Regions from separate parts of the Homo sapiens genome. Here region 2 is linked to region 1. Evidence: promoter capture Hi-C in human tissues and cell types (Jung and others, 2019). All regions are on one chromosome and are shown on one strand. The core of a region is centred on a gene start or on the middle of the fragment in contact, and the rest is flanking DNA. Distances in the headings are between cores, read along the strand shown.

Region 1 (2,873 bases), core at 130-2,629:
GGGATTACAGGCGCACGCCACTACGCTTGGCTAATTTTTGTATTTTTAGTAGAAATGGGGTTTCACCATGTTGACCAGGCTGGTTTCAAACTCCTGACCTCAAGTGATCCGCCCACCTCAGCCTCCCAAAATGCTGGGATTACCGGCATGAGCCACTGTGCTCGGCTGAAAAAAACCATATTTTTAATTTAAAATAATAAATGGGTCTGACCAGAAATGCCTGCCTCAAATTGCAGGACACATGACAAAGCCCATTCTTACTTAAGACATTTTCAGTGTGCGATGGGTCTACCGGGATGTAACCCCATCGTGAGTCGAGGCCCATCTGCACCCTGCTATAGCTACTGGTAGATCTTACCTGTTTCCCAAAAAGGACCCAACTACTTTAGGTTCAAGGCACTTTTTTGGAATATTTAACAGGGAAAGAGCCTGGAACTAAAAACAGGTCTAACGCAAGATGCCGCCACACGATGGCACTGCTTCCGTAGACCTGGAAGAAACGCGGGCGCGGGAGCTGGCGGCGGACGCCCGGGTCTGCGGGGTCGGGGAGTAGCGTCCGGCCGGAGAGCCCGCACCTCGAGGAGCCGGCGGAGGACGCGGTGTCGTGACCGCGTCTCCCCCATCTGCTCTGCTTTTGGCGACAGCGTCCCGTCGGCCTTTCGGCCAGGACGCAGCAGCCGCGTCTCTGGGCCTCGACCCCCAGGGCCGGCCGGACCCGGGACCTCCGAGGAGAGCAGCGAGAACCGGCCCGGATTCCCCGAGGCGCCCGAGTGCGGTGCGGGCAGCCCTCCCCGCCTGCCAGGCCGCCGCTGTCCCCACGTCTGGTCCCCCACGCCTCTTCCCGCATCTGGTCCCACGGTGGAGGCGCGGGGCGAGGGCCTCACGCGCGTGCCCACGGTCGGGGGGCGTCCTTGGACGCGCGGGTCCTCTCCCACGGGTCTCCACCCCCCGCCCTCCGGCGACAGGAGCCGGCCTGGGACGCGCGCGCTGCGGCCAAGTCCTGGTTTTGATTTCACTCCCAACCCCGAGGAGCGAGGAGGTTCCAAGCCCACAAACAGGAAGAAGAGAAGGCCCTGGAGTGCTGGCAGAGGGAGTGTCATTCCCAGCAGCGCAGCGCAGGCCGGCCCGGGCCGGGGAGGGAGCAGCAGCGCGGGCACCCTCCTGCAACGTGGGCTGGGGGTCCCCAGGGCCGGGGAGGGGGCCCCGGGGAGGAACTGAGAGGGGGCGCGCCCCGGGAAGGCTCGGGGCGGCTCCGGGGGGCTCCCAGGGCGCCCCCGCCCCTTCCCCCGCGGCCCCGGGGCGCCCCCGCGGTGCCGGAGTCGGGGCGGGGCGTGCACGTCAGCCGGGGCTAGAAAAGGCGGCGGGGCTGGGCCCAGCGAGGTGACAGCCTCGCTTGGACGCAGAGCCCGGCCCGACGCCGCCATGAGCGCCGCGCTCTTCAGCCTGGACGGCCCGGCGCGCGGCGCGCCCTGGCCTGCGGAGCCTGCGCCCTTCTACGAACCGGGCCGGGCGGGCAAGCCGGGCCGCGGGGCCGAGCCAGGGGCCCTAGGCGAGCCAGGCGCCGCCGCCCCCGCCATGTACGACGACGAGAGCGCCATCGACTTCAGCGCCTACATCGACTCCATGGCCGCCGTGCCCACCCTGGAGCTGTGCCACGACGAGCTCTTCGCCGACCTCTTCAACAGCAATCACAAGGCGGGCGGCGCGGGGCCCCTGGAGCTTCTTCCCGGCGGCCCCGCGCGCCCCTTGGGCCCGGGCCCTGCCGCTCCCCGCCTGCTCAAGCGCGAGCCCGACTGGGGCGACGGCGACGCGCCCGGCTCGCTGTTGCCCGCGCAGGTGGCCGCGTGCGCACAGACCGTGGTGAGCTTGGCGGCCGCAGGGCAGCCCACCCCGCCCACGTCGCCGGAGCCGCCGCGCAGCAGCCCCAGGCAGACCCCCGCGCCCGGCCCCGCCCGGGAGAAGAGCGCCGGCAAGAGGGGCCCGGACCGCGGCAGCCCCGAGTACCGGCAGCGGCGCGAGCGCAACAACATCGCCGTGCGCAAGAGCCGCGACAAGGCCAAGCGGCGCAACCAGGAGATGCAGCAGAAGTTGGTGGAGCTGTCGGCTGAGAACGAGAAGCTGCACCAGCGCGTGGAGCAGCTCACGCGGGACCTGGCCGGCCTCCGGCAGTTCTTCAAGCAGCTGCCCAGCCCGCCCTTCCTGCCGGCCGCCGGGACAGCAGACTGCCGGTAACGCGCGGCCGGGGCGGGAGAGACTCAGCAACGACCCATACCTCAGACCCGACGGCCCGGAGCGGAGCGCGCCCTGCCCTGGCGCAGCCAGAGCCGCCGGGTGCCCGCTGCAGTTTCTTGGGACATAGGAGCGCAAAGAAGCTACAGCCTGGACTTACCACCACTAAACTGCGAGAGAAGCTAAACGTGTTTATTTTCCCTTAAATTATTTTTGTAATGGTAGCTTTTTCTACATCTTACTCCTGTTGATGCAGCTAAGGTACATTTGTAAAAAGAAAAAAAACCAGACTTTTCAGACAAACCCTTTGTATTGTAGATAAGAGGAAAAGACTGAGCATGCTCACTTTTTTATATTAATTTTTACAGTATTTGTAAGAATAAAGCAGCATTTGAAATCGCCCCTGCTTCCTATATTCGCAGTGACTCCCGCCCGCCCGCCGGTGGCGCAGGACCCGGCTCGGGAAGGGTGCGTTCCGGACCCGCAGCCAGCGAGCACCAGGGAGCCCGGGCGCCAGGTGTGTGTGTGGGGGGGGCGGGGGGATGGGGCGCAGGCCCGAGCTACTCAGGAGAGAGGGTCTGTCGCTTTTAAAACGCATTAAAGGCTCTCTCCTGGCCTTATTTAACTTGCCTAAGCTAGGTGGA
Region 2 (2,873 bases), core at 110-2,609, 740 kb after region 1:
AAGGATCAATCATTCCTTAGTATACATTGAATGCATCAGGATGTATTTAGAGTATATGTTCATTTGTGTCCTATGTAGATATCATTTATAGAGCACATAGGTCTTTACATGTATGGAAACTTTTTTAATATTATTATTTTAATACCTAGCAATACTTTTACCTTGTATATCTTTTACTCTGTATGAATATCGATATATACATATATGGATATAGGTATAGACAGGTAGATAAACACAGGCATAGAGTATTATATGAGATGCCTTTGGAAATATTCAGTGTACATTCAATATTTCCCAACAGATGTTTTCAATACTCCAGCCTATCGTAAGGGCATAGATCTTGTCTTTCTTCCCTCCTATATGGTTCAATACCATTCCAGGATGGAACACAACCATAGAATGTTGTCCATATAAAGATAAAGCTTCACCTTCAGGCAAAAGGTCCAGGAAGTGAGCAAGCTGTGCTGCCATATAAGGCGTCATGTCCCACTCAGCACCTCAGGGCCCTACACTCCTTCTCGAGGGATGTCTGTGTTCTTCGCATCCATTCTTGTTGGCTTCGCTTGATGCTTCAGCAGTCCCGAGTCACCTCATTGGCTTACTGGACTCACCTGGCCTGAGCTAACTGGCTGATTTGACTCACCTGGGCTGCAGGGGCTGTAATCTGAAATGACCTTTAATCTAGATTTTATTTGGGGATTTTTTACACAGACATACTTACAAATGAACATTACATAGACATACTCATATAATGCTGTATGTGTGCGTTTACTTATGTGCCTATCTATATACAAAAGAAAGCCCCATAAAAAAACTAGGTCAGTGGTCATCTCTCATTTCAGCTGCTCCAGCCCAAGTGAATCCAATCAGCCAATTAGCTCACTACAGGTGAATCTAATCCAAGCCACACACCATACTCCATTCTCCTACCTGTGACAAAGTCCGTGTTACCTGGCACCCAGGTGTTTTTAATTCAAGGGCTCAGGAAACCAGCCCAGTGGGGTTCTGTCCATTCAGCTAGGACTGGGAAGAGCTGGCTAACATCAGTGGGTAAAGCCTTTGACAAAAAGAACAATTGGCCTGACCGATACAGCCAGTTTTGGCCCTAGAGTGCATGTTGACCCTGGCCTGTTGCCTTTTGCCCAGGTACCATGCACCCTAACATTTGCTCTCAGTACAACAGTCTATTTTCAGGGAATATATCTAGGCTTCTCTTCCCATAACCAAAAAGACCTTTCTCCAGCCAGCAAAAATTAACGACAAGAGTGTATTCCTACATCACACATTTATAGAAAAAAAATAAAGCTCCTGTCCTGATGAAAAGCCTGAAGAGAAGAAGTCGGCATTCTCAGATTTGGGCGAGGGCCTTTGGACTGGGGCTGGTTCATCTCTGGCCTGGTGCTCACCAGAGGAGGAAGGATTAACATCGATCTTGCAATGAATGATGCTTTGGCCTTAATACGTTTTTCTACTCACAGAAGAGCAACAAAAATGAATGGTTTCCTAGTATATATGAAATGCAGCAGGATGTATGTCAGAGTGTACCTTTATTTGTGTACTATTGTGGATATGGCTTATAGGGCAGATAGGTCTTCACATGTATGGAAGTTTCTTTTTATATTATTTTCACTGCCTCCATCTACCAATACTTCTATTTTCTATAGTGTGACTCTGTATGAATATAGACAGATATAGATAGATAAATAAACACACACACATACATGATGATATGAGCGTGTTTATGGAAATATTCATGTATACATACAGTATTCCCCAGCAGAGGTTTTCAGTACCGCAGCCTATTGTAAGGGCACAGACCTAGAATTTCCTCCCTCCTATATTACTCAGTACCATTCCAGAATGGAATGAAATCATAGAATGCTATATGTATAAACATAAAACATCACCTTTAGAGGCAGTGCCTGGGAAGTAAGTGGGAAGCAGCTTCTCTGGCTTCCTCTCTCCATCACCTCTCAGCTCACAAGTCTGCACTGCAAAGAGGCTGTCTTTGACCAACCAACAGAAATTAGGCCGATCTATCTATTTGATTAAAATATCTCAGTACAAGCAGCAAATATTGTATTTATTTTCTTCTAATTGTTTCCTTATGTATTACATATCTCCCTCTCTAAAATATAAACTTGACCAATATAGCCATCATAACTACCTTATTTACCTATTTGTTTCCAGCATATAGTAACATGTTTGGGGTAGATGTGTGCACAATAAATATTTTTGAAATACTTAGATAAATGTTCTCCCATCAATCAAACTGAATGAAATGTCTGAGGCTCTTTTGATAGGTCTAAGATGTAAGTAACTCTATATCATTCTAGCATGGTTTGCTAAAAGGCAACTCATGGGCTATAAAGGCAGAGACAAGGTAAGTATGGAAGTTTATATTATTAGTTTGGTAAATAATATTATGAAAAACATATAAGCTTTCCCTTAATTTTTTCAGTATTGAAGAATAGATTAAAATATCAATGTTTCTCTAGCATGGGTGATCTCAGTACAACTGGAGATAGTTTGAAGTTACTCAATATTTGGCTAACTGAACTTGCTAGTCTGCATATATAACAAACCCACAAGTCTTGACACACTGGTCTTTTAAAATATGGACTAAAGAAAATCGGACTGACTGGAACTTCCATTCTTATTCCTCTGAATATACAGCATATTCTGAATATAAAGACGGTGACATTTTAATCCCCCCCAAAATGAATATTTCTGGAAAATTGCATTCTATCAGTTTTCTTTGTTACCTATTTTACATTAATTTTGGCTATGCTATATGTTTCAGAAATACCAAAAATTTCTCACTTAAACAGTAACAAGTTAATTTCAGTTAAGATTGTTTATTTGCGAAAGCT

Evidence for each region. The method cuts DNA at HindIII sites, captures the fragments that hold promoters and counts their contacts. A contact is called where the count stands out against the background at its distance.
Region 2: a fragment that was not itself captured here is called in contact with the fragment with the promoter of CEBPD in region 1 in 1 of the 25 tissues and cell types used here (lymphoblastoid cells).

Annotation. Positions count from the first base shown.
Region 1 is chr8:47,736,670-47,739,542 of GRCh38, reverse strand. It overlaps CEBPD (CCAAT enhancer binding protein delta), which reads left to right and starts at 1,379. Exons shown (of 1, transcript NM_005195.4): 1 at 1,379-2,630. The coding sequence starts at 1,423. The coding sequence ends at 2,232. RefSeq lists silencers at 551-1,020, 1,111-1,190, 1,231-1,340, 1,831-2,020 and an enhancer at 1,417-2,355. The HindIII fragment of the contact is 24,041 bases long and covers 1-2,873 here.
Region 2 is chr8:46,995,641-46,998,513 of GRCh38, reverse strand. No RefSeq gene overlaps it. Among named protein-coding and RNA genes, the nearest start is that of LINC00293, 160 kb to the right of the region's middle. RefSeq lists a silencer at 329-577. The HindIII fragment of the contact is 5,463 bases long and covers 1-2,873 here.